Regions from separate parts of the Homo sapiens genome. Here regions 1, 3, 4, 5 and 6 are each linked to region 2. Evidence: promoter capture Hi-C in 16 types of primary human blood cells and fetal thymus (Javierre and others, 2016). All regions are on one chromosome and are shown on one strand. Each heading gives the region's core, a stretch centred on a gene start or on the middle of the fragment in contact. The rest is flanking DNA. Distances are from core to core; before and after follow the strand shown. Region 1 overlaps LOC107984653 (a long non-coding RNA gene). Region 2 holds the start of ZC2HC1C (zinc finger C2HC-type containing 1C). Region 3 has its middle 23 kb from the start of BATF. Region 4 overlaps JDP2 (Jun dimerization protein 2). Region 5 holds the start of BATF (basic leucine zipper ATF-like transcription factor). Region 6 overlaps BATF (basic leucine zipper ATF-like transcription factor).

Region 1 (4,551 bases), core at 1,912-4,411, 490 kb after region 2:
TCGAGATGGAGTCTCACTCTGTCACCCAGGCTAGAGTGCAGTGGAGTAATCTCGGCTCACTGCAACCTCCAACTCCCGGGTTCAAGTGATTCTTCTGCCTCAGCCTCCTGAGTGGCTGGGATTACAGGTGCATGCCATCACGCCTGGTTAATTTTTATATCTTTAATAGAGATGGGGTTTCACCATGTTGGCCAGGCTGGTCTTGAACTCCTGACCTCAAGTGATCCACCCGCCTAGGCCTCTCAAAATGCTGGTATTATAAGCGTGAGCCACTGCGCCCCGGCTCTATTACTCCTTCTTCTGACAAAGCATCTGCATTTCCTTTCTATGTGTAGAGCTGTCAATCAAGGTGTCTTCTCTGCCTTATCTGGCCAAGATACAACCAAACACCCAGACTGGGCCAATCAGACTACTGGGAATCTCGCTTTGGAGCAGAGCAAAGAAAAGACCCAGAAGATGTTTGGAGCCCCTCTACTCTAACTGTGAAGCCCTGGCCAGAGAGAGAATTCCTGTGGTGGAGAATTGTCCTGGCTTCTGCCTTGTTCTGGGCCTTGTTCTCTGGGCTTCTTTTGAATTCTGTGAGCCACATACATCCTTCCAATACATTCATTTACTGCTGATGTCAACCAGAGTAAGCTTCTATTGTGAAACCAAAAAAATGGTGACTCATTGTACCTGGGTTTCCCAGAGAGGGGGCGAGGGGGCAGGGCACTGCATCCTAATTCTCAGGGGCTAACAGGAGTAGACTGCTTTCTGAGAGGGTTTGAGGGTGTTCTGTGCTCCACCAGAAACTGGGCATGCAGCCAGAACCACACCAGCCTCTGGATTGCCCAACCTGGATACTACCCATTACTGCTTCTGGAAGGAACCCCAGGCTCTAATTTGAAAACCATCACTGGGAGTTGCAACTCAGCCTCCAGGCTTCACTCCCCATCCTCTTCAGTCCATTCTATGAGGAGCTCAGCCCATCAGCTAAAAGGCAATATTCAAAATCCAGGCCAGGCACTGGCAGTCAGAATGGGGTCGGAGCTGGAGCAGGGTGAAGGCATGCGTCTGCGTTGTTGCATGGAGGGGCACTAGGGTAGGGGCTATCAGTCAGCCAGATGTACATATTTTAATATTTCAACAGCCAGTTCAACTGCACCGGTGCGCACCATCTCGCTATCAGCTTAGCACCTACAGGACTGTGGGGGTCTTGGAGGGAGGGACTCTCCAGTGTGTTCTTGTAATTCTCCTCGCCTCTCCCTCTTCTTCCCCACCTGTCTCTGCCTCGCCAGAGGTTTGCACAGAGCAGATGATTAACATATTTGTAAATAAAAATCCCAAGATAGAAGAAAGAAAATGAAGAGGAAGAGAATGGGTGCAAGGAGGGGAAGGAAGATTAAAAAGTTGGGTCTGTTCTAAAAAAAAAATCACACCATGGACCATTCCTCCTGCCGCCTCACTCCCCCACCCCAAAGTGTTCATCTACATATGCTCATTTAAAATAAGCATTAGGGGCACCCTTGAAAGAAAAGAAAAGTGCAAAATAAAGGTGATGTATGAAAGAGTGAGGGGTCATCTTGCTAGGGGCAGGGATGATACTGGCTGCCATTTATGATCTCATTTTCTGTTCACTCTATTATTTTAGGAAAGATTATTATCCCCATTTTACAGATAAAGAAAGACTCCGAAGAGGCTAAATGGTTTGCCCAAGGTCACACAGTTAAACGTGGAGATGGGACTCAACCTCTCTTTGGCTGCTTGCAAAGTTGGAGCTATATATAGCAAGCGCAAGCGCACCTGGGGAACTCCCCACATTCCAGGATTACAGCCAGGACCATTGGGACAGCGGTCCCGGGTTGGTGCTGCCACCTAGTGACAGAGAACTGCAGAGATCAACTTTCCTCCCTCTCCTCCGTTCCCCCTCCCTCCTGCATCCTCCTTTCCCAGCTTGAGAGAGTCCTGAACCATGGCAGCCAACCATCACTTGTTTGGGCAGAAGCTTGAATACAGAGAATTGACCTCTAGATGCAAGCTGGCGCCTCATTCAGCTTCCTCACTCTATCCTAGGGCATAGCTCTGAAGAGATGTTTGGGTGAGTGACCAGGAATGCAAATCTGCACAGATTTGGGCATCAACCTGGTTTCCAAACACAAGCTCTGCAGATATTTTACTGTGAAACTCCGGGTAGCCGTGAACAGGATGTTGGCTACATCCTGTTTTAGGGTGATAACTACGTTGTACCTGCACAGTCCCAATCATTGAATACCTGCTAGCTCCCCGGTAACATGTTAATAGCAGCCTCTCATTTCCTTTTTGCCCTATCTTTTTTCCTTTTATTTTAGATTCAGGGGTACATGTGCAGGCTTGTTACATAGGTAAATTGCATGTCACGGGGGTTTGGTGTATAGATTATTTCATCACCCGGGTAATACACGTAGTACCTAATACCTGATAGGTAGTTTTTCAGTCTTCACCCTCTTCCTGCCCTCCACCCTCGAGTAGGCTCCAGTGTCTGTTTGTCTTATCTTTGTGTCCTTAGCTCCCACTTACAAGTGAGAATATGCAGTATTTGTTTTTCCATTTCTGTGTTAGTTCGCTCAGGGTAATGGTCTCCAGCTCCATCCATGTTGCTGCAAAGGACATGATCTTGTTCCTTTTTATGGCAGCATAGTATTCCATGGTGTATATGTACCACATTTTCTTTATTCAGTCTATAGCTGATGGGAACTTAGATGGGTTCCGTCTCTTTGCTATTGTGAATAGTGTCTAATTTTATGTGAAGCCCAAACACCAACACATGTTGCCCAAGCTCACTGAGCAAGGCCTTCAGCCCTGATCTTCAGACTCCAAGTGCAGTGCCCTTCCTACTCCGCTGCCCTGTGCTGTGCCCCGCTCCCCCACAATTCAACTCACCCTGTGAAACCTTGTTTTTGTCAGCCTAGTCATCCAGACATGATGACTCAAGGGTCGCTGTGGAACAGGCTGTCAGGGGAGGACCTGTGTCAGCACAGTGGCTTTCTTGACCTTTATGGCAGTGGGGAGTTACCTCAGTCTAAAACGTGTGGCTGCCAAGTGACTTCAGTCTCAACTGAAGCACGGACATGATCGATGGGCAGATAAGGAAAGCCATTCCCACTCCCTGAGCTTTCCACACCTCCTTCAGCGTCTTCTCTCTTCTCCTAAGTCCAAGATCACCTGGAACATAGAAGCCACGGGTTAAAATTTTTCATTCAGACCTGGCTCTCAGAATCTTGTTGCAAATGGAGAATAAAGGGTCACCTCTAGAAGGCAAAGTGGTCTCACCAAATATGTGCCTCACCCTGTCCACAATTAATCTAGTAATGTCTCTGTCTAGTCCTGCATAATTTGTGTCAGGAAATCCACTTTAGTTACCCATAGTGATGAAATAAACACAACAGTCAGATCTGCACCTAGCACAGTGTATATAGTCAGGGCAGATACTAGGTGACAAGCTCGAAGTAGATTTTTAAACCTGAAATGTATAGATTATCCATCTAAACCGTGATTTATTTCATCTGGGGGTCATTGGGCTGCTTTGACTATCTGATGAAACTGTGGACTCCCCCGCCTCTCCCTTTATAAAACATGTTTCTTTTTTCTTTCTTTCTTTCTTTTTTTTTTTTTTTCGAGACAGAGTTTCATTCTTGTTGCCCAGGCTGGAGCACAATGGCGTGATCTCAGCCCACTGCGACCTCCACCTCCTAGGTTCAAGTGATTCTCCTGCCTCAGCTTCCCAAGTAGCTGGGATTACAGGCATGCACCACCACGCCTGGCTAATTTAATTTGTATTTTTAGTAGAAACAGGGTCTCCCCATGTTGGTCAGGCTGGTCTCAAACTCTTGACCTCAGGTGATCCACCCCCTTCAGCCTCCCAAAGTGCTGAGATTACAGGTGTGATCCACCATGCCCAGCCAAAACACATGTGTATTAATCAATTTGGATGATATGATTTCAGGGGTTTGCAGGATTCTGAAACCCATTCGTAGACCCTTAGATAAAAACTCTTCATCAGTCAACACAGCAGTCACCCAAGACTCAAGAAACAGAGCTGCTGGTAGCAAGCATGGCCCAGGACATCGGCATTGGATTGGAGTGCAGAAGCTCCCAGGTCGCCACAGTGTGGTGAGCCAGGAGGGCCTCACACTCCCAGGAGAAAGCCTACTCCACGTGAGGCAGAATCTTTGACTCGGGCCGTTTCCATCTGTCCACTCTGACACAATGTGTCATTAATGGTGAGCAGGAAGGAGTGGAGACGAAGGATGCAAAGAGGTTCGGGAACTGGATGAAGATTTATGTTATGTACATTACTTGATAACATTTTTTAAAAGGTTGAAAGCTTAATAGATTTTTTAAATGATGTACTCTAAAGATGTCCTTCTGATTATAGGTGCGGTTGCTCACACCTGTAATCCTAGCACATTGCGAAGCCAAGGTGGTTGGATTGTTTTGAGTTCAGGAATTGGAAACCAGCCTGGGCAACATAGTGAGACTCCGTCTTTACAAGAAGAAAGTTAAAAAAAATTAGCTGTATGTGGTGCATTCTTA
Region 2 (4,501 bases), core at 964-3,463:
TCTTTGGAAAGTCACTGGTAGCTTTGTAGTTAAATAAAGTGGAGAAAGTAGAAGACAGGCCACAATGAACTGGACAATGACGGGGAGATGAGGATATGTGGGCAGCAAATGTGGAGATTTCCATTAAGAAGTCTTGTGGAGAAGAGGAGAAATGAATGGGACTGTAATATGAAAGTTAGGTCAAGGGAAGTAAGGTTTGTTTTGCAGGGGAAAGTTGAGTATATGTTAAAACCAAAGAGACAGAGTTTATGGAGAGGTATAACTTGAAGTTAACAAGATGCAGACAGGGTGCCGTCTCTCACGTCTATAATCTCAGTACTTTGTGAGACTGAGGCGGGAGGATCTCTTTTGACTCCAGGGGTTTGAGACCAGCCTGGGTAACAAAGGGAGACCCTGTCTCTACAGAAAAAAAAAAAAGAAGTAAGCTGGGTGTGGGGGGCACACACCTGTAGTCCCAGCTACTCGGGAGGCTGAGGTGGGAGGATCACTTGAGCTGTGGAAGTTGAGGCTCCAGTGAGCAGTGATTGTGCCACTGCACTTCAGCCTGGGCAACAGAGTGAGGCCCTGTCTCAAAAACAAAGGCCAGGCCCGGTGGCTCATGCTTGTAATCCCAGCACTTTGGGAGGCTGAGACAGGCGGATCACCTGGGGTCAGGAGTTCAAGACCAGCCTGGCCAACATGGTGAAACTCTGTCTCTACTAAAAATACAAAAAATTAGCCAGGTGTAGTGGCAGACGCCTGTAATCTCAGCTACTCGGGAGGCTGAGGCAGGAGAATCACTTGAACCCAGGAGGCAGAGGTGGCAGTGAGCTAAGAGTGCGCCACTGCACTTCAGCCTGGGCAACAAAACAGGGCGAGATTCCGTCTCAAAAAACAAAAAACAAACAACTTTAAAAAACCCCAAAAACCAACAAAACAGAAAACAAAACAAAACAAAAATGCAGGGGTAAAGTGATGGAGTCAATTCCCGGAGGGTACTGAAAAGGACTAATTCAAGAGAACTCAATGGAACTCAATGGAAAGTCGCCCTTCTTTCTCATAGAGGAGAGGGAAGGAGAGAGAGAGAGGAGAGAGGGAGACAGACAGAGACAGAAACAGAGGAGAGAGGGAGAGGAGGAAGAAGAGAGAGAGACAGAGAGAGAGAGAAAGAGAAAAAGAAAGCCGGTAAATTCTGCTGAGGGAAGCTGTGGGAGTTGATAATCGGGACCCTGAGTGGAGTGGGAAACGTCTGGAGCTGCATATACGGAGAGGCGGTAGAGTCAACTAGGGATGAAAACGAGGAATTAAAAAAAAAAAAAAGACTGATCTGGAGGGTCCACCAAGGAATTTCCTTGTAACGGGTAACAGCTGTAATATGACATGTTGAAGTATTAACACTGATGACTGCTGTCTACATTATTTTCCATGTGCATGAATTGAGTAGTTACAGGGAAAAAGCGAACTGCCTGTTCCAAACGGCTTACACAGATGAACTGAAGCGAAGAAGAAAAATGAACTTTCTTTTGATGTCAACAAGATAGAGTATCATTTACTGTTGAAGCCAGGTTATACTGATTATTTTCGATCTGGTAGTTAACTTTATCATCATTACATTTGGCTGAGTCATTCCTGGGCCCTAAGTAGAGACGGCTAGAATTACCACGTGAGTAAAACATTATAATATCAAAATAATTAGATTGGCCACAAAAACTACCACGGAAAGATACTGCGTAGCAAAAACGTTGGCAGCAAGTTCCAAAGCCTTGGCGAGGACAAGCAAGGAGCGCGCGCGTGCAGCCATACCTGGGGCCCGCCCAGCGCAGCCGAGCGCGCGGAGAAAGGCCAGCAGCAGCCCCGCTCCCGCCAGGCGGGCGGACGCCGGCATCCTGCGGCGGAAGCACGCGGAGGCACAGCCAGGGCCTCCGCCCTTTGCCAGACAAGGGCACACCCCAAGGTCTGGGAGCGTCGTTCTCAGAAAAGTACAAGTTCTTCTTTGAAGGAGCTCCAGAAAAGCCTCTCCCGCCCCTCCCCGGCTCCCCAAGGGCAGGGCTGGACCGAGCTGCAGAGTTGGCCGGACACTGACTGGGTCAAGTGACCTTGGGCTGACCGCACCCCCACCCCCGGTCGCCCCGGGTCGCTGGTGCACTGCGCCTGCGCGCGTCTCCCCGAGGAGTTCGCGGCGAGGGGCGGAGCTTGGCGCGCCAGTGCCTCGGTTTCCAGGCACCGGGAATAACAGAAGCCAGCTGAGAGCGCCTGCGCGGCTGTCGGTTGATGGGGAGGTCAGGTCTGGGAAACTAGGCCCTGGGGTTTTCCCTGAGCAGGAGCGGTGCCCGAGGGCCTCAGGTACGCAGAAGGGCGGGGAGACATGGGATCAGCACCTCCACCTCCTAAGGGACCGAAGGGCAGGAGAGCGAGAGGACTTGTCCCCAGAGGTGGAGTCCGAAGTGGGGGCGCCCCAGTTGACCCTTCGGGACAAAACGTGACTTCAGCCTTAAGGATCTAAAACCGGCCGCGGTCAGGTCAGGTGGCCCTCAACGCTCAGGTTACAAAACTTTTACAGTCTGCGCCACGGGGACTCCTGGGATGAGGGTTTGACAGCCAGGCACCTGCTCCAGGCCCTAGCAGCTTTTGTGCTCTTTGGAATCAAGCACGGTTCCAGCAGGAGGGAAGCCCTGAGAGTTCTTTGTGCCAGTCACTACCTCTGGGCCACAGCTTTCTCACCTGTAAAATGGTGAGGCTGGACTCTGCGGGAACCCTTCAGTTTACAGGGGAAGAAACGGGGGCCAGCAAGGGAGAAGTCGCTTGTCCTGTTACAGGCCTAGAACCTGACTTTCTAGTCAGGTGCTCTTTCCACCTACTATAGAGTATACTGTGCGTGGCAGAGGCTGGTGCTGGAGGAAAGGAAAGCTAGGTGGCAGGAACACCTGTAGCACCTTCGTTTTTCTACCCTCAGGGCCTAACACAGTGTCTTGTGCATAATCACTCACCAAATGGTTTTTGAAGGGAAGCTTTGGCAGGTCCAGCAACACTGTCCCCAGAAAAGTTTAAGGGAATGTGGGCAGGGCAAATGTAGAAATAGTTTGCTTTAGCAGCCGAGAGTGAACCTCAGACAAACTCTTCCCGTGTATCTGGTTTAAATCTCCCGTAGGCGTCAGTCCAGGCCCTGAATGGCTGGTCTCCAGCGGTTGGCGTCACATCTGCCTGTGGGCGTTATGCTCCCACATAATACAACGGAAGCTCCAGGGCCCCACTCAGCCAAGCAAGACTCTTACGAACAAGGTGACTCTTCCCAGCAGTCCTTGAAGGGGCACCTGAGGAACAATTTCCAGAAGCAGCTTTTGAGCAACAAAGAGTTGATTCTGGATAAAGTCTATACTCACCCCAAATGGAACACCCAAACAAAAGCCCGGAGCTACTCCTATCCCCACTGTACTGGAATCAGCCAGCAAGATCCAGAAAGTGATTCCCAGGGCCAAGGAAATGGTTTGTTTTACTCGTCAGGCCCTCAATCCTGGTATCCCAAAGCCAATAACCAGGACTTTATCCCCTTTACAAAGAAACGAGTTGGAGTGGACCGGGCGTTCCCATTGAAACCCATGGTCCACAGGAAGTCGTGCAGTACAGGTGAGGCTGGCACTGATGGGGACCATAATGTCTACCCAAGGCCCCCTGAGCCGAGAGAGTTTTCATCTAGGAACTTTGGTGTGAGGAACCAGGGCAACTTTTCTGTGGTTGGTACTGTTCTTGCTGCCACGCAGGCGGAGAAGGCCGTGGCAAACTTTGACAGGACGGAGTGGGTGCAGATCCGAAGACTAGAAGCTGCAGGGGAGAGCTTAGAGGAGGAAATCCGAAGAAAGCAGATTCTCCTGAGGGGAAAGCTGAAGAAGACAGAGGAGGAACTCAGAAGGATCCAGACGCAAAAGGAACAGGCCAAGGAAAATGAAAACGGAGAGCTACAGAAAATTATACTCCCCAGGAGCAGAGTTAAAGGTAATAAAAGCAACACCATGTACAAACCTATCTTCTCCCCAGAATTTGAGTTTGAGGAAGAATTTAGTAGAGACAGGAGAGAGGATGAAACTTGGGGACGGTCTCAACAAAATTCAGGTCCATTCCAGTTCTCTGATTATAGAATCCAGAGGCTCAAAAGGGAAAGGCTGGTAGCAAGCAATAATAAAATTCGAGACCCAGTCTCAGAGCCATCGGTGGAGAAATTCTCCCCGCCTTCAGAAACACCAGTCGGTGCTTTGCAGGGATCCGCCAGAAATTCCAGCCTGTCCATGGCACCAGACTCCTCAGGTTCCAGCGGCTCCATTGAAGAGCCACAGCTGGGTGAGTGCAGCCACTGTGGGCGCAAATTCCTCTCGTTCAGGCTGGAGAGACACTCCAACATCTGCAGCAGGATGCGGGGTTCCAAGAGGAAAGTGTTTGACTCCTCCAGGGCCCGGGCTAAGGGCACAGAACTAGAGCAGTACTTGAACTGGAAGGGGCCAGCTTCAGCCAAGGTAACAAGAGCCTTATG
Region 3 (4,700 bases), core at 2,122-4,621, 430 kb after region 2:
GCTCAGCCTGGGCTCTGACAGAGCCACCAGGGGAAGTCCTTGGTTAGACTTCGTGCTGGAGGAACCACAGTCCTGAGGGGGTGTAGGGGGAGTGTTGTTGAAGGGGAACTTTCTTCTCTTTCTTGAAGAGAGACTCTTGGCCTGGCAGTCACAATTTGACCTATGCTCTGGAAGGAATGGGAGTCTGGAGAAGATGCTCCTTCTTTTCTGCAACGGGTTTTAATCAGTGGTCTTCCTGGCACCATGAATGGAAGAGAAGAGGCCTCCTTGGTAACTTCACCTGCAGGCATTGTAATGGGTACTGAGGAGCAGAGGGACTAAGATGATCTTATCTACAGCTAGTGAGTGAGATGGACCTGTGGATAGCGCGGCAATGAGATGAAAACGCCATGCTAAGGGAATGCACAGGCAGTGAAGGGCTCCCAAGAACCTCCATCCTGGTGCATCAGAGAACGTTTCCCACTGGGGATGGCAACTGAGTGCAGGCCTAAGGAACAACTAGGAGTTGGCTAGGCCAAAGGGGTAGGAGAAAACCCAGAGGAAGCAGCAAGAATAGAAGAGTACTTTGGGAGGCCGAGGTGGGCGGACCACGAGGTTGGGAGATCGAGACCATCCTGGTTAACACAGTGAAACCCCGTCTATACTAAAAACACAAAAAATTAGCCGGGCGTGGTAGCAGGTGCCTGTAGTCCCAGCTACTCAGGAGGCTGAGGCAGGAGAATAGAGTGAACCCGGGAGGTGGAGCTTGCAGTGAGCCAAGTTCGCGCCACTGCACTCCAGCCTCGGTGACAGAGCGAGACTCCACCTCAAAAAAAAAAAAAAAAAAAAAAAAAAAGAGTAGACGAGCAGAGCTGAGAAAGACAATGGTGGGGGTCCTGGACCAGTGGCCAGAGCAGCGAAGAGTGGAACGTCTCCAGCTTCTGGCTGGAAAGCTTACCAGAAAGAAGAGGGACCACATGAGGGAGTGGGGGCTTTGTCCTGCAGAGCTGCCATCTCCAATCCTCCTGGATTATCCATTCCATCTGTTAAATTAAAAGAATTTTTTTAATTTATAAATTTCATTAGAAATTATTTTGCACAGGGACCCATGGCCTGGGACACACTGCCTTAGCCCACCCCACCCCCTGTTAAATTTTTTAGCATGCAAAAATATTTGTACATGTCTGTATATAATATAAATACAGGGCTGGCTGCAGTGGCTCACACCTGTTATCCCAGCACTTTGGGAGGCTGAGGCAGGCAGATCACTTGAGGTCAGGAGTTCAAGACCAGCCTGGCCAACATAGTGAAACCCCATCTCTACTAAAAATACAAAAATTAGCTGGGCATGGTGGTGCGCATCGGTAATCCCAGCTACTCGGGAAGCTGAGGCAGGAGAATCGCTTGTACCCAGGAGGCAGAGGTTGCAGTAAGCCGAGATGGCACTGCTGCACTCCAGCCTGGACAACAGAGTGAGACTCCATCTCAAAAAAAAAAACAAACCATATGTATAATTGCTTACAAGACAGTATACAAATATTTATTTACAAAATAGATGTTTGCTCTTATACTAATTATTAAATATGATCATAGCTTAATTTCTTTCTTATTACTTTTGGATAAAAATAAGTAGACATAGAAATTCTGAAATAGGCTCTACAACCCACTGTACATACAAGAGAACTGCTCTATAAATGAGGTTGGGAGCCCCCAGAGAGTTTGAGGACCATCCCTTTCCTCAGAATCAGCGAGATGTGTAACTGTGGCTTGGGTTGTCAAAGCCACTGCTGGTTGCCTCTGTGCTGGGTGATTCAGAGCAAGAAACCTCAGTAGCAGGCCCAGACTCTGTTGCCTTAGACTAAACATCTAGAAGCCCCTGGGCCTGGTGACCCGCAGTCTGAATTTCTGGATGTGCACACCACCATGACCGTGTGCTTTTCTTTTTTTTTTTTTAAGTCAACTGGAACCTGGACTTTATGGTTTCAGGGCTGTCAACAGAAAATGTAGAATTCACGTAGCTGCGGTCTTGCTGTGAAATTTTTGGGTAGAGTGAGCTGAACTTTCTGCCTGGACCATCTGTCCTGAACACCATACACAGCAGAAAATGGTCGAGCTTTGTCTGGGTCCAGGACATCCAGGCCAGCAAATGGCGGAGACATCATGCTGAGTAGGGGATACGGAGTTTTCCAACCACATCACAGGAACTTTCCCGGGGCTCAGGGCTCAGCTCTCAGTGTCATTAAGGTAGTTAGAGAATTGACTCTGACGTTGTTCTCTTTGTCTCTGGCTTGAGAGTAGGGACTGTTGGAAGCACTGGGACCTTATTTTGCCCTTGGGGCTGAGCTCTTCACAAAGGAGATGCCTAATGAGGCTTGAAGATGGCGTCTCCCTGAGCTTTTTCAGAGGAATCCAGGAGCAGCGGTGACAACTAAAAGGTAGCGGCAGTGACACCAACACAGCAGACATTTAAGGAGCGGTGACCACGTGCTCAGGCCTAAGCGCTTTCTAGTCATCATCTCATTGAACTCTCCCAACAAAGCGTGTGGCTACTTTTATTATTCCCACTCCACAGATGACGCCTGAGCCTGGGAGAGGCTTTCTCAGAGTCCCACAGCCATTTGTAGAGCTGGGGTTGCCAGGAGTCCCGGGCCCCAGGCTCCAGTCGCTCTTCCCACCATAGGAGCTGGCAGGACTGGGCTTTGGAACCTCACCTCCTACCAGCGTGTTTTTGGAAGTGGCTATTCTTTTAGGTTCTGCTAACCAAGCCAGGACTAAACCAAAAGGAGAACTCACAAAAGGGTAGCCTTAGGATGTTCACTCAAAACTGCAGGGCATACAATGGTAAATAAGTAAATAGGTTTAAATGGTTTTTAAATTTTAATTAAAAAAAAATAAGGCTGGGCATGGTGGCTCACACCTGTAATCCCAGCACTTTGGGAGCCCGAGGTGGGCAGATCACTTGAGGTCAGGAGTTTGAGACCAGCCTGGCTGACATGGTGAAACCCTATCTCTACTAAAAATACAAAAATTGGCCAGGCATGGTGGTGCGCATCTGTAATCCCAGCTACTCAGGAGGCTGAGGCAGAAGAATCGCTTGAACCTGGGAGACAGAGGCCGTAGTGAGCTGTGATCATGCCACTGCACTCCAGCCTGGGTGACAGAGCAAGACTTCGTCTCAAAAAAAAAAAAATTAAAATTAAAAACAAAACTGTAGAGTATTATCTAAGCCTGGTCATCTTATGCTTTCCGGGCAACACTTTCGGATCAGGAATAAGATGTGAGAGTCCAGATTGAATCAGTTTATCTGTTGGAAGGAGATAAAAGGAGAAAGTTTTTCCAAGCAGCTCCTAAGGGGGAGATTTTTTTGTTGTTGTTGCTATTGTTCTTAACTACTATAAAAATGGTTCATGTGTGTGGTAATAAAATTTCAAACAGTTACAAAAGGATAAAGAAAACATAAGTTTTCCACATCTCCCGGCCTACCCCTAGACTGACTCTTTAGACGTAAACATTTAAAATCAGATCTAGGTTTTGTCCTCCTGTGGTTATAGGCAGAATTCTAAAATATGTTTATACTTCTCTCTCTTAGTTTATCTACTTTAAAGATTGTTTGAAAACTCCTTTATACTTTGAATATTGAGGAATTTAACTCAGTTATATTTCACCGCATGTTCTCCCTCCCAATTTTTATTTTTATATTAAGTCTATCGGAATCTTTATAACTTTAAATAATATACTTACATCTCAATTTCTTGGCCCGTCACCTTTTACAGTATGTCTAACTTACAAAGTGTAAGTTCAGGAAAATACACAAGGCAGACTTCCTTCTGCCTTGTAATGGACACTGTGGTGTGGCGTGCTGCCCAGATCCCTTTCAGGACCAAGGCCTTGATTCCCCAACTTTGGGGAGTGCTGGCAGCTAAGAGGTCTCAGCTGAGTCCCTCTCCAAGAATTGCTTTTGGCTGAAGGGAGTTACCTGGAGATTATGTGAGAGATTATGCCACCTCCCAGAGGGCAGCCCATATCCAGTGACTGGTCAGTATGGGTTATGTGTTATAATGGTGTAGCCAGCCTATTGGCCTCAATGGAGCAACTTTGAAGAGCCATCTGCCTCCTCCCAAACTTCTTGCAGCATTGACTGGGGCCTTGTATCTACTCACTCCTCCCCTGCCTGGTCTTGGCTCCCTCAACTCTCACAGGTGATGTTTCTGAGAACACTCTCCAACAACCTCCCTATACCCAAGTCTTAGAGTCTCAGAGTCTGTTCTCTGGGGAACTTATAAATACCTTCTCTGTATCTCCTATTTCTATTTCTGATTATGGTCAGCTAATAAACAATTACTTTTAATTTTTTTTACTGTGAAATATTTCAAACATACAAACAAGAAAATATAATAATAAAATTAAAACCGGAAGAAACACCACTATAAATAACATTGTCATTTTTTATTCTACCATGACTTTATTATATTACTTTACTATAACTTAGTCTTCCATGCTTTATTCAAAGATTGTTCCTAAGAATTGAAAACAGAAGACAGTAATTACAATAATTTTATTGTGTATTCTTTAGTGACAATCTAAATAGTGAGGTTTGACCTGCAGACAAGCAAATGTAATCCTATGCTATTCAAACTGAGCCGCCTAAAGGGAACTGTTGCAAGATCAAATGTCAAATGGATTTTTTTTATTGTTACAATCTACCAATTGCATAAAATTGT
Region 4 (4,569 bases), core at 1,356-3,855, 400 kb after region 2:
CAACCCATCTTTCATGCCCAAGGTCAGACCCGCTCTTTAGCCCTCTCTAAGGTCTTCTGAACCCTGGGTGGCTGTTGGTCACACAGTAGTAAGCTCTGCCTTGTTGCACAGATTGCTTCTTCCCCTTACAGTGGAAAGGCCACAAGAGCCAGTTGGGGGCTCATGGCTCTTGGATTCCCCAGGGCATTCACTGTACATAGCAGGGCCTCAGCAAACACTCACAGATGGGTGGGTTACCCTGACACCCCTTGAGGCAGGGGCTCAGGAGAGTTTGAAGATGGAACTAAGCCCTTGGGCTGGGGAGACCGTGATGGTCAGAGGGTTTGTGAGAAGTTCCCAAGGTCACCAGAGAGTCACCAGTGAGCAGGGGGCTGACATTGGCACCTAACTGCCCCAGCCCGAGGGCTCACAGGCTTCCATGGATTCACGAGGGGTCTCTCCTGGCCCTCCGAGATGCGCCTCTCTTGGAATTCTCAGAACAGAGGACCAGGCCAGCTTCCCAGTCACGTCCCAGCCTGTGGAACCAAAAACCACCAGAGCTGGTTTTTAATATTTTCCCCGAGCATTTTTTTTTCCTTTAGTGAGGCTGTTTTCTCTCAGCGTCTGGTCACGAGGCCTGCCCGTCTCAGAGTTCCCGGGCACTCATGCTGCCACCTCAGAGATGAGCCAAGGAACAGTTCGGTCAGACCAGCTGTGGGAGGAAGACGGGACCCCTGGAGGGAGAGGGTTGGGCCCACTGAGGGTTCTGGGGACCCCCTGGGGAGGCCGCTCCACCTGTACCCTGCCAGGAGGACTGGCAGGCTTATGGGCTTACGGGCCCTCTGGTTGTCACATACGCAGTTGCAACTACTGCTTGCTCTTTGACTGATACAAGTTGCTCAATCTCTTACGCTATCGCCATTTTGGACTAAATACTTGTGGGGCTGGCCTGTGCATTGAAGGGTGTTTAGAGCATCTCTGGCATCTACCTGCTAGATGCTGGTAGCACAGCTCCCTCTGAGTTGTGACAATCAAAAATGTCTGCAGACATTGCCAAATGTCTCCTGGGAGGCAAAAATCAGTCCTAGTTGAGAACCACTGGTCTGAAACTTTGCTGGCCCTCGAATAAATGCCAAGTCTCAAAGTTTTCAGACATAATCCAAGAAAAATCATTCAGATGCTGTTTTACTGTTCAATCCCCCAAGCCTTGAATCGATATGCCCATCTCCCATCTACACGATGGACATGTAACCCTCGCCACCTCCCGAATCAAATCGTCAACATTCCTTCCTTCCCCTGGAACCTCTCCAGCTGAGCCGGAAGTTCCCTGGAAATCTCACTCAAGGTCTATTGGAAACCTCATTTGGGATCCAGCAGGATGACTGCTGATTCCCTGTCTGTGGGCAAAGCTTCCAGATTATAGGGATAAGGAAGAGGCTATTGAAATAATTATAGACTAATAGCTAGGAAGCACATGTTTTAGGAGGAATGACATGACTACACTACACTCACTGATCCCACCGGCCAAGATATCTCCCACATGTGTCTGTCACACATCAAAGCACGTTGCCGTTACACTGCCATCTGGGTCCCCTCTTGGGCCCCCCCATGCTTGCTCCGTAGACCTGCTCTAGGTCCACCTGGCCTCCTTTCTTTGCCCACCCTTTCTTTCTTGTGCAAAGGCCCTGAGGCGGCAGAGTATTTGGCATATTTGAGCAACAGCAAGGTGGTCACTGAAGCTGGGGTGGATTGAGGGAGGGGAGAGAGGTGGGACGTGAGTCTGGCTGGCCCTAGAATATAACCTGGACATGACACAGGCCAGTGTCACCGCTGTGGCAGGCACTGCCTGCAGAAAGTCAGTTAGCCAGGGGCTCAGTAGCAGGGTCTGTGCTTCTTCCTGCAGAAAACAGGCCAGTGCCAGCCCAGCGTGCCCTGTGCCTAACCACAGGCAGAGCCTCTCCCCAGAGCCAGTCCCCGTGAAACTCACAGCGTGCTTCTGTGTTGGTATACAGGAATCCGAGCGGCTGGAACTCATGAACGCAGAGCTGAAGACCCAGATTGAGGAGCTGAAGCAGGAGCGGCAGCAGCTCATCCTGATGCTGAACCGACACCGCCCCACCTGCATCGTCCGGACCGACAGTGTCAAGACCCCCGAGTCAGAAGGCAACCCACTGCTCGAGCAGCTCGAGAAGAAGTGACCATGGGCTGGGAGGAGGTGGAGGAGGAGGAAGAGGAGAAGGAAAAGTGACGAAGAGAGAGGAGGAGGGGGGCCCCAGATGGCCCTTCCTTTGGTGCATGAAAAACTGTACAATGAGGTTCAGCACAGCCAGCATCAGCCGAGCTTTTTTGTGAAACTCAGATCAGCCACCCAGGAGGAAGAGCGGGCTGAGGAAACCCAGAGGGACCAAGCGCTGAGACCAAAGTTGACCCTCGGGTAGGGTTGTCCTGCCTGGGGCCCCACTTGAAGGAGGCAGGACAGAGGCACCGAGGCCAGGGAGACGCCCAACGAGGCAGCCCTGGGCTCTTCTCTGGCCTCTTCACCAGGGCACCCATCCAAGGAACCTCCGAACAGCCAGGAAAAGCCATGAGTTGCAACCAAAACGCGGCTGAGGATGGAACTCAGAATGAAACTGCAACCCACCTGCCCCCAGCCCTGCCCCTCGCCCTGATGCGAAGCTGGAGAGGGGCGTGCTGCGGGGCCCTGATGCCCCCACCCACCTCGGTCCAGCGCGGCCCTGCCCAGGAGGCGGCAGCCGGGCGCACCCTCGCCAGCCCTGCTGGAGTTTGCTGTGGGCACTGAGGCGCGGGCGCCCTTCCAAAGCACATACTCACCGAATGTTTACAGACTGGCTGTCCTGGCAGGGCTTTCAACTGCACATGTTTTTTATACTTTCCTTTTTTTTTTTTTTTTTAATATTTTTTACAAAAAAAAAGATTTTATACAAGCAATATATATATGGATTTCTATAATCACTCGATGTGATACAGTATAAATATGCTATGGTTTGTTTGTTATGAACAGATAGCCACCAGTTACGGCCGTTGTGTGTAACTCCTAAGTACTGTAGTCTCTGGGTGTCGGGGGTGGCCAGGGCGGGGGCGGGGTGCATTTCCATCCTTGTAAACCCTTCATAGTACTCAGTCCTGTATCGCTCAGTAAACATTGCTCTTACTTACATAGCCGCCTTGCGTGGTGTCTGCCTGGGGAATGGGTGCAAGGCCCTCTCAGGGTCGGAGACTGTTTGGAGCCTCTGCTATAGGCCTGTTCATTTTCACAACAGCTCTCCTATTTCACAGATGAGGAAGCTAAGGCTCAGAGACATTAAGCCACCTGCAGTTACTATTTTGAGAGCAGTCAGAGTGTTCGCTCACTCTGCAGATGTTTTCTGAGGGCCTGTTGTGTGTGCCAGGCCCTGAGAATTCACTGGAGGATGAAACAGACCTAAGTCTTGCCCTTGTGGGGCCTCCAGTAAGGAGTGAATCCTGTGCTTGCTCCATAAGTTGTCTCATTTCGTCTTCATGGCAGCCTTGCCAGGGAACAGCACTTGTCCCCAATTCACAGATGGCGAATTAGAGGTCCAGGGAATTAAACTCGCAGACACCATTTGTTGAAGACTTATTTTGTGACAAGCAGACATAGTCTCTTCCCTTCTCACAAGAGCACAAACTAGGCACGATTCTTCTCATTTTACAGATGGTTTAACTGAGGCTCAGAGAAGGTAAGCGACTTATCCAAGGTAACCCAGCTAGCAAGGGATAGAGCTGGTGTTTGAACTCTCCCTCCAGAGGCCTGTGACTCTCCTCCTGTCACCAACCCACTATGATTGTCCTCATGGTTGAATAGGAAGCTTATGAGGCCACAGTTATAGATTTAGTTTCTGGGAAGGCTGGATAGAGTTCCAGGTTGTCCCATGATCACAGAGTGAACCAACTACCCTGGTCAATGTGTGTCTGACCCAGGGAAGGGTGTGGATGGCTTCTCTGCCCCCTCACCTCGACAGCTGAATCCCTGCCACCCAGGGCCGGAGCAGCTCAGTGGCATTCACTCAGTGCCTGCTGTGTACCTGGCACTCGGCAGTTCTCAAGGCATGTCACGCATGAGGAAGGCGGGAGAGGTGTTTTTAGCTTCCTTGTATACTGAAGCTTGCAAAGGCTACAGTTTACCCAACTAAACTTGACTCCTGCATTCTAATCATGTGTTCTTTCTCCTCCATCCCTGGACTTAGGATAACTAGTTGCTGGTGATGACTTCGTGTCAAGAACAGCAGTGAACCTGGGTTGCTTCCCAAATTGTGGACGAGGCCTTCTGGGATGGGCAGAAGTGGAGAATGGTGATTAACACACCTGTGATCCCTCCCTCGCTCACTCCTCTCAGTTTCCCTCCACCCAACACACTTGGTGTGGACTCCCCTGCACCCCGCCCTAGAAACAGGACCTGGTCCTCTCACTGTCAGCTGTGGCAGAAGGTTGTGGCAGCGGGTTGCCTTCTGTCTCGGGGGTCTTGAGGCTGTCGGTCCGGACGATGCAGGTGAGGCAGTGTCAGTTCTGCATCAGGAACCCCTCGCGCTGTAATCCTTTGATATTTTTCAA
Region 5 (4,326 bases), core at 1,067-3,566, 450 kb after region 2:
GGGGTTTTTCCCTGCCTGGGCTGTTTTTCTCTTTTATCTTCATCAATTGAAGAGGGCTGCTGTGTCTTTCAAACTGTCGGAAGGTATCTGTATTTTTTTTTCTTTCACATAATTCTGTAGGTCTTTTCCCAGATATGTATTTTTCTCTCTAACTTCTAACTCGCTGAAGTTTCCGCCCATGTGACTTCCAGCGTGAGTTACCAGAAACCACAAGAGAGAGAGAGAGCGTGCAAGCCCCAAAGCGAGCGACATGTCCCTTTGGGGAGCAGTCCCTCTGCACCCCAGAGTGAGGAGGACGCAGGGGTCAGAGGTGGCTACAGGGCAGGCAGAGGAGGCACCTGTAGGGGGTGGTGGGCTGGTGGCCCAGGAGAAGTCAGGAAGGGAGCCCAGCTGGTGACAAGAGAGCCCAGAGGTGCCTGGGGCTGAGTGTGAGAGCCCGGAAGATTTCAGCCATGCCTCACAGCTCCGACAGCAGTGACTCCAGCTTCAGCCGCTCTCCTCCCCCTGGCAAACAGGTAGAGTCCTCCTTTTTCTCTCTCCTACCTTCTGATTCTCCTGGGGGATGGAAAGAGAGCCAGGCTTCCTTGTCCTGCCCAGGGAGCTGAGGATGGAGGAAGTGGCTCGTTGCACGGGCACTCTGTTAGACTTAGGACATGGAATTTGCTACTAAGCTGTGCATATTGGCAGAGATCCTCATCCTTCCACCCATTCTGCCAAAGCCCCTTTTTCTCTCCATTTTCCAAGGCTGCCTATCACCTCTGCCTCACTGGGGTTGCCACCCTAAAAAGCTTTCTAGGAAGCAAAGAGGAGGATGAACATCAAAGAATGCAGAGAAAAGAGTCTACTGTTCTCCAAGGCTGTAGAAAAGTGAGAGGAGTTTTCAAGTGGGCCGCTGGCATGCACAGCTCAAATCCTAGATATGCAGTTTCCCAGGAGACAGCCAATAGGGAAGGGGAGAAAAGGGGTTAGGGAAAAGTTAAAAAAAAAAAAAAAGAAGAAGAAGAAGAGGAAGAAGGAGGAGGAGGAGGAGAAACCCAGGCTAGCATAGAAGGATCTCTCTACTGGGGCACTGCCTCTGTTGCTAGCACAGCCAGCAAGGGGAGATGCTAGAGGTCCAGCCAATATCTCTTTGCTTGTGGCTTCTGGATAGGAGCAAGGAAATGAATGAGGAGGTGGCTCTGGAAATTTGTTGGAAGACATTTGCTGGTAGTTCATCTTAGCTCTGGGGAAACCAGAGAGACTGAGATAGGGATTGTGGGAGCATTTGGAGTCTAGATTGTGACTTCCAAGTCCAAAGGTTTTAGCTTGAGGATTACCAAAAAAGGAGTGCCCTGCCCATCTCACAGCTTCTAGGGTTTTGTTCTGCACCACACTCTTGACATCCCTTGCTGTAGGAAGCCCTCCTCTTTCTCATCCGACATGTATCCGTGGGTTAAAATTTTCTCAACCTTCATAGTTTAAAAACTTCATTCTTTCCTTAGCACAGATATCCACAAGGGTTTTCAAAATGCTGCAGCCAAAATAAAAGTATATAAATATTGAACAGGGCGTATATCCTAAGCCTCTAATAACGGAGCAGCAGGCTGGGATGAGTCTGGGTGGAGACCTCTAGAAGGCACAGAATCCAGTCTGCTGCTCAAGATGGTGTCAGAGTGGCTCTGACTGCCTGGAAGTTTGTACTTTTCTTAGGAAGGAAATTACTCATGGCTTCCATGGTAACCTGGTGCCCCATCCCCCTTAGAGGAAGAGCACTTCCTTCCTATCTATGCCAATGACCTCCTACCACAAAGGCCTGAAAGTATTGGACATGTTGGTGAGCCCAGTACTTAGTGATCCCAGAGCTTTGCCCTTGGATCTGTGCCCCTCTAGCCTGTGGGAGACGTGGAAGGGAACAGGGCATGAGTTGCCAGGACTCCTACACCTACACTGCAGCATCTGGGAGAGAACTGGAGCTAACCTCTCTGCCCAGGCACAGGACATGCCTCTCTCTGGGTGTAATTAGAGAACACCCAAAGATCCCCTTATCCTACCAAGCACCCATCTACTGCCCACCACAGCCAGGTCACCTCCACCATTAACGTTCTTTTTGGCATTGATGTGCCAGGCATTGTGCTGGGGCCATGGGGAATGTCACAGTGGCTGAGCACAACGGAAGGAAAGAGGAGGCAGATCTGGGATGCACCCTCAGCTCAGGAATGCAGCAGAAGACCACATGGGGTGCAGAGTAGCTAGCGGGGAAGGGTCTTGGAAAGCCATTGGGCTCAGCACCAGAAGATGTAGCACTCTCAGATGACCAGGAGTCCTTGGGCACACTCTTAGAGCCTCAGTTTCCTCACATATAAAATGGAAATGATGATATCAACTTCACAGCATTGGGGAATTAAACAAGAGCACTTCTGAAAGAACACTTGCCCAGAGGTTGGCATATAGTAGGCACTCAACAAAGTCTGAAAAAAAGAAAACAGCTAAAAGAACAGCAAGAAGAGCCTAAAGGCCAAAAAGTGAGAGGGCGAGGGTGGAGCAGCCCTACAGAGGAGAGGTGATAAAACACACTTCATCGCCTTAACCATTTTTTTTTTTTTTGGCCAAATACAGCTCTATTGAGTCCTCAAGTTCTCTTTTCTTTTTCCTGTAGCTATTGGTCAAAAAAGTCAGAGACCTGGGAATGTGTAAGCAGGCATGGAGAAGAGCTCTCCTTCGGGTGCAGGCTTTTGGTAAATAGAGGGATGGAGGGTTCATGCAGAGACGAAGGCATGGAAGGATGGCTGGACGGATACCACACACCACCAGAGCCTGCTTTCACTCAGAAGGGAGATGCAGACCCATGTAATCCTCCCCGTCTCTGCTTCCCAGGACTCATCTGATGATGTGAGAAGAGTTCAGAGGAGGGAGAAAAATCGTATTGCCGCCCAGAAGAGCCGACAGAGGCAGACACAGAAGGCCGACACCCTGCACCTGGTAAGTGTTCAGATCAATCTTCATCCTCGTGAGCTTTAGGCTTTGCCCTCCGCCATCTGGGAACCCTTGGACCATAGCTTTGATTCTGCTTGTGTGGGGATGTGTATGTGGGGTGGGTTAGTGGAGGGTGAGGGCCGTGGGGTGAGGTAGGGAAGGGAAGCTGTCGTGAGAGTGCTTTAAGAAGGCTCTGTAGTCCGGGCGTGGTGGCTCACACCTGTAATCCCAGCATTTTGGGAGGCCAAGGCGGGTGGGTCACCTGAGGTCAGGAGTTCGAGACCAGCCTGGCCAACATGGTGAAACCTCGTCTCTACTAAAAATACAAAAAATTAGCCAGGCATGGTGGTGCATGCCTGTAGTCCCAGCTACTTGGGAGGCTGAGGCAGGAGAATCACTTGAACAGGCAGAGGTTGCAGTGAGCCGAGATCGCGCCATTGCATTCAAACCTGGGTGATAGGAGTGAAACTTCATCTCAAAAAAAAAAAAAAAAAAATAGAAGGCTCTGTAGCAGGGAATGGGCCAGGAGGCTGAACAGAGAAATGGGCCTTTCTACCCCAGGAGGGCTCAAGGGGTGGGAGAAGGCAGAGCTGTATTGGGAAAGAATTTAGAAGGTATCAAGTGCTTTGGGGACGGCCCATTGTCTCGCAGTGCAAGGACCACACATAGTCGCATCCCTTGGCAGAGACCCAAATGCCCCTGCATTTGACACAAGGAAATTCACAGGGCGCTGTACCAGATTCCTCTTTTCAGAGCATTATTAAAGTCTTATTTTGAAATTTCTGTCTTTAATGGTATCCCAAGGGGTCTATGAAAGATGCAATTTCAAGTGCCCTTATCTGGGATGATCACCATCCTAGTTGAGTTGCCTCTAGTCCCAAATTTTTCTAGAGAAAGCTTTTACCTCTGTCTTGAGTGGTCCAGGGGCCTTGAGCAGTGCTGAACTGCAGTTCCGCCAGTGGCCAAGGCCCTAGATGGTGTTTCTAGGTTCTGGCTGTGCCCCTTATAAAGTACTGCTTCCTCCCCATTGCTCATACCTTACCACCTTACCTCTCTTCACTCTGCCCCCAGTATGGTTCTTGTTCAACCAACTCTTCACTAGTTCCTTTCTCTCCATCCCCTCATCCCCTTCCCTAGCAACTCTACCTTCCTGCCCTTGCTCCAGAAACATTCCCTTACCTCTAATAGCCTAGCAATTCCTTTCCATGGAAAAAGTGCAATTGGCACCAAAAATCAATAAGCTTGTATTTATCTGGAAGATTAGCATGATAATCAGCCAGTTAGAATGGCTGTGTTAACCGTATCAAGAATAAGTAAGTAAGATGTAGTTTTAGGGGAAATAATGCATCTTTCAGCTTTACAAGGAAACAGAGC
Region 6 (4,818 bases), core at 1,795-4,294, 470 kb after region 2:
AACAGTATAACGTTTAAACAGACTTTAAAGGCAAGAAAGGATGGAGGGCACAGACTCTGAAGCCAGAGTGCCTCAATTCAAGTACCGGTGCTGCAACTTCCAAGCTGCGTGATCTTGAGCCAGTGACTTAACTTCTCTGTTCCTCTGTTTTTCCTCTTCTGTAAAACGGAGATAATATTTTCTACCACACAAGTTTGTTGAAAATATCAAATGTAATGATAACCATAAAATACTTAAAAGAGTGATTGGCACACGGAAGTATTCAATAAATGTTAGTTATTGGCCAGGCATGGATGATTCACGCCTGAAATCCCAGAACTTTGGGAGGCTGAGGCAGGCGGATCACTTGCGGTCAGAAGTTCAAAACCAGCCTGGCCAACATGGTGAAACCCCGTCTCTACTAGAAATACAAAAAGTTAGCCAAGTGTATTGGCGGGCACCTGTAACCCCAGCTACCCAGAAGGCTGAGGTGGGGAGAATTGCTTGAACCAGGGAGGCAGAGGTTGCGGTGAGCTGAGATTGCACCACTGCACTCCCAGTCTGGGCAACAGAGAGAGACTCTGTCTCAAAAATTAAATAAACAAATAAATGATAGTTAAGTTAACCTAGGCTATTTTTTTAAAAAAATTTTGGTTTCTATCCACCTTTTTCGTATAAATTGAGCCAGGTTACACCTTAGACCTATTAGATCAGAATCAGGCATCAGGATTGCTAAAGCTCCCCAGGGGACCCCAGTGTGTGGATGAGGTTGAGAATCATTGTTTTGGTCCAGTCTTTCCATTTTAAAGTGAGGCAACTGGAGCTGAATAGGGAAATCGAGTCACTGAGGATCACCCAGCCAGGACCAGGGCCCAAGTTCCTATTCCCATTTACCGCTGATGGAGCTCACCGTGGTCATGAGTTCAGGACCTGGCTCTGTGTCTGGAGGAAGGTCTGGCCTCGAGTCAGCCCTTGTCCAGAATATCTGGCCAGGTGACCCCCTCTCCATGCAGCCCAGGAGGCAGATGGTCAGCTCTATGATTGGAAGAATGTGAGTGACTCAGGGATCTTGTGTTGTGTTGTGTTGTGTGTGGGTCACCAAAACCGAGACCCAGCTTTCTCCTGGGAGACAACAGGGTAGCCAAGGACTTATTTTTTTGTTTTGTTTTGTTTTGTTTTTTGAGACAGAGTCTTGCTGGGTTGCCCAGGCTGAACTACAATGGTAAAATCTTGGCTCACTGCAACTTCTGCCTCCCAGGTTCAAGTGATTCTCCTGCCTCAGCCTCCGGAGTTGCTGGGACTACAGGCATGCGCCACCACGCCCGGCTAATTTTTGTATTTTTTGTAGAGACAGGGCTTCACCATGCTGGCCAGGCTGGTCTTGAATTCCTGACCTCAAGTGATCTGCCCACCTCAGCCTCCCAAAGTGCTGGGATTACAGGCGTGAGCCACAGCACCTGGCCAACTTTCTAGTGTTCTCGGGAGACCTTTGCCCACTCAAGTCTCCAGTCTCTCGGGGGAAGCAGTCAGTGTGAGAGAAGGAACACAGGGCCCCGAGCCAAGCCCTGCTCTGCGCCTCCCTCGCGGGCAATGAGTCTTTGCATCAAACACTCAAAGTTTCTGAACTTCTGAGAAAACAAGTGCCTTGAGGTGAATCCTATAGCACAGCTGTCACCAGCCTGTGGTCATTTTGGAGGGTATGTGGCATAGGTTTGTCCCAGGGTCTCAGTTGTCCTCATCTGTAGAGTGGGGATAATAACAGCTGACCTTCCCTATCCCACACAGAGCGTTATTGTGAGGAGTCTGATGGACCTGGATGAATTCTGAATAGGAGAAAGATGGGTACATGGATGCCCAAATGCAGGCTCACCCCCACCCCTCTCAGTAGCAGAAGACATGCATATGGGAGAAGCTGCATTTCCTCCCAGCCTCACTGTGCTCTAGGTGTCCAGCCCTCATTGTTAGGGGATGTCACTGTTGTACCTCTGGATAAACAGCTGCTCTCATGCCACCTTTGCCAGTTGTCCCTTCAGCTGGGCGAGCCCTTTCCAGGGCATGACTGCCCCAAGGAGGGCCAGAGGGGACTGGGCAATAGCAGGGACATGGAGGGACGAGGCCCCAGATCAGCCACTTCCTCCTGCAAGGGAAGTCAAACCCTTTCTCTCATAAGTGTCAGGCTGGCTGCACGGTCCCTGGGCTGGCAGGGCAGGTTTCTTGGGGGCCCTAGCAGGAAGCACTCTTGCTTCCCAAGGTAAAGACAAGTTTCTTATCACTGGCGGTGGTTTTCTGGTTAGAGGCAGCAGGCAGCGGTTACAAACTTTGCCTAGAGCTCTGGGATCTGCAAGCCAGGGAGGGGGAGGCAGACGACAGAGCTAGAGTGAGCTCAGCAGAGCTTGCTTAGGGAGGAAGGACCCGCTGTCACTTCCCGAAAGCTGGGCCAGCCTCTAGGCGGGGAGAAGGTCAGAGTGGCCCTCCCTTCTGCCTCGGGGTTTGCCCAGGCTCTTCAGAGCACAGAATTTACAGTAAATGTTGTCACCAGTGGAAACTCTCAGAGGGGGCGAAGAAAAGGGCTAGAGGAAGGAGCCAGGACTCCCGGCCCCCAGTTCCCGTCTTACCAACACCCCCTAGTCTCATCGTGTTGCTTGATCTTACCTTTCGGTAAAGAGGGGATGCCCTCCTTCTGGGATGTGCCAGGAAATACCCAAATGGTAAAATGAATGAGCCGGCCACACCTTGCAGAAGGCAGGGCTGTGACTCCATCATCGTGGCTCTTGATAACTCCTCTGCCCCGTTTTAGAGGGGCTTCCTTTGTACTGACCTTGGCACACTTTCTAGCTCAGAGCCCCATTCAAGAAATGCCAGGTTGAGGCTGAGCATGCTTGTGTCTGTCCTTCACAGATGATGGAACCTGGCTTGATGAGCAAGGCCATGTTGGTATATGCTTCTCTGCCATTTAGAAAGACCCCCCCCAGGATGTGGGGTTTAAGATGATTGACAGTATAACCGATTAACCTCATTAGCCTACAGCTCATGCACCTGATGGATTCGTTAGGGCAAATTTTATTTTATTATTTTATTTTATTTTTTGAGAGAGGACCTCACTCCATCAGTGAGGCTGGAGTGCAGTGGCATGATCATGGCTCACTGCAGCCTCCAACCCCTGGTGCTCCATAGCTAATTTTCTTTTATTTTTATTATTGTAGATACTGGGTCTCAATAATGTTGCACAGGCTGGTCTTAAACTCCTGGGCTCTCAGGAGGTAGAGGTTGCAGTGAGCTGAGATCGCACCATTGTACTCCAGCCTGGGAGACAGAGCAAGACTGTCTCAAAAAAAAAAACCCAAAAAACCAAAAAACTGCTGGGCTCAAGCGATCCTCTCACCTCGGCCTCCCAAAGTGCTGGGATTATAGGTGTGAGCCACTGCACCCAGCCTATTTAGGGCAAATTTTAAATGTCAAGTTATCTTACATCTGCTCACCACCCACCCTATTTTTGAGTTACCTTCTTCATTCCAGCAGATGATGTCATAAGTCTGTCAGTCAACAAACATCTGAGTTCATACTATGTGCCAGGCATTGAGCCAGGCATTAACAAATAGGCATTTAATAAGTGCTTGAATAATTAAAACAAATTTAAAATAATATTTAACTAGTGCTTTCCAACTTGCCTGATCATTAGAATGACCTGTGGCACTAGTTAAAAATCCAAATTTCACTCCCTAGTAGTCTAGTGGCTAGGATTTAAAAAAAAAATTATTATTATTTTTTTAATTCAGCTCTGCAGCCAGGCATGGTGGCTCACGCCTGTAATCCCAGCACTTTGGGAGACCAAGGTGGGCAGATCCCCTGAGGTCAGGAGTTCAAGACCAGCCTGGCCAACATGGTGAAACCCCGTCTCTACTAAAAATACAAAAACTAGCCAGGCGTGGTGGTGCCTGCCTGTAATCCCAGCAACTCGGGAGGTTGAGGCAGGAGAACTGCTTGAACCTGGGAGGCAGAGGTTGCAGTGAGCCAAGATCACACTACTGCACTCCAGCCTGGGTGACAGAGTGAGACTGTCTCAAAAAAAAAAAAAAAAAAAAAAAAATTCAGATCTGCAGACTTCACTCCGCAAATCCCAAAACCACTGATTCACATTCCTAGATTTTAGGATGGGCCTGAAATTCTATTCTTAACAAGCCTTCAAATTAATTCTCATGATATGGCAAGTTTGGGAAATACTGACCTAATCCAAATAGATTTAGAAAGGTAAGACCTGGTCTCCAAATATCAGGTTGCCTTTTGAACTGAAATTTTTTTTTTTTTTTTTTTTTTGCATCTCCAATGATATTTGCCTTTCCTCTGTGGTTACCAATGCTTAGCAGAGAAAGTCTGTTTGGTTGAGTCGAATAATGTAAACCTTAAAATTATACCGGAATTGCGATCTCCTGGGCTTTCTGAGGATGGGATTGCTTTTCCATAATTGCTAATTACCAGATTGCAATTGTTGATTAATTAATGATGTGATCAGAAATCAGCACTTCTTAGCAGGCATTTTTCTGATTAGCATGTATTTGATGGTTCCCCCAAGCAACAGGGAAAAGAGTTTCCAGAAAAAAGAGAAGCTCACAGGCTTGGGACACCCCCAAAATACCGTCAGAATGCTTTCTGGTAGGCCGGACAGGGTGGAACAAAACGTTGTAGCAGACTTTGACCATTTAGTATTTATTTATTTCATTTTTATTTTTATTTTTATTTTTGAGATGGAGTCTTGCTTTGTCACCCAGGCTGGAGTGCAGTGGCATGATCTCGGCTCACTGCAGCCTCTGCCTCCTGGGTTTCAGCAATTCTCTTCCCCGA

The links. Contacts are between HindIII fragments. The CHiCAGO score rates a contact against its expected background, and 5 or more counts as called.
Region 1: a fragment that was not itself captured here is called in contact with the fragment with the promoter of ZC2HC1C in region 2 in 1 of 17 cell types (neutrophils); the score reaches 7.3 in neutrophils.
Region 3: a fragment that was not itself captured here is called in contact with the fragment with the promoter of ZC2HC1C in region 2 in 1 of 17 cell types (neutrophils); the score reaches 6.0 in neutrophils.
Region 4: a fragment that was not itself captured here is called in contact with the fragment with the promoter of ZC2HC1C in region 2 in 2 of 17 cell types (neutrophils and monocytes); the score reaches 5.9 in neutrophils.
Region 5: a contact is called between a fragment that was not itself captured here and the fragment with the promoter of ZC2HC1C in region 2, in 1 of 17 cell types (neutrophils). The highest score is 5.5, in neutrophils.
Region 6: a fragment that was not itself captured here is called in contact with the fragment with the promoter of ZC2HC1C in region 2 in 1 of 17 cell types (neutrophils); the score reaches 5.6 in neutrophils.

What each region holds. Positions count from the first base shown.
Region 1 is chr14:75,559,293-75,563,843 of GRCh38, forward strand. It overlaps LOC107984653 (a long non-coding RNA gene), which reads left to right. Exons shown (of 2, transcript XR_001750830.1): 2 at 336-626. Among named protein-coding and RNA genes, the nearest start is that of FLVCR2, 17 kb to the right of the region's middle. RefSeq lists enhancers at 520-679, 2,985-3,064. The HindIII fragment of the contact is 2,358 bases long and covers 1,983-4,340 here.
Region 2 is chr14:75,067,428-75,071,928 of GRCh38, forward strand. It overlaps ZC2HC1C (zinc finger C2HC-type containing 1C), which reads left to right and starts at 2,214. Exons shown (of 3, transcript NM_024643.4): 1 at 2,214-2,322; 2 at 3,128-4,484. The coding sequence starts at 3,147. It also overlaps a transcript of ACYP1 not described here. RefSeq lists enhancers at 1,857-2,408, 2,409-2,960 and a silencer at 2,113-2,232. The HindIII fragment of the contact is 2,993 bases long and covers 1-2,985 here.
Region 3 is chr14:75,497,393-75,502,092 of GRCh38, forward strand. No RefSeq gene overlaps it. Among named protein-coding and RNA genes, the nearest start is that of BATF, 23 kb to the right of the region's middle. The HindIII fragment of the contact is 4,882 bases long and covers 931-4,700 here.
Region 4 is chr14:75,467,299-75,471,867 of GRCh38, forward strand. JDP2 (Jun dimerization protein 2) reads left to right here. Exons shown (of 4, transcript NM_001135048.2): 4 at 1,992-4,569. The coding sequence ends at 2,177. Among named protein-coding and RNA genes, the nearest start is that of JDP2, 42 kb to the left of the region's middle. The HindIII fragment of the contact is 2,439 bases long and covers 1,387-3,825 here.
Region 5 is chr14:75,522,231-75,526,556 of GRCh38, forward strand. It overlaps BATF (basic leucine zipper ATF-like transcription factor), which reads left to right and starts at 239. Exons shown (of 3, transcript NM_006399.5): 1 at 239-515; 2 at 2,854-2,958. The coding sequence starts at 453. RefSeq lists an enhancer at 207-536. The HindIII fragment of the contact is 3,061 bases long and covers 787-3,847 here.
Region 6 is chr14:75,540,522-75,545,339 of GRCh38, forward strand. All of the region lies in intron 2 of BATF (basic leucine zipper ATF-like transcription factor), which reads left to right. Among named protein-coding and RNA genes, the nearest start is that of BATF, 20 kb to the left of the region's middle. The HindIII fragment of the contact is 7,175 bases long and covers 1-4,818 here.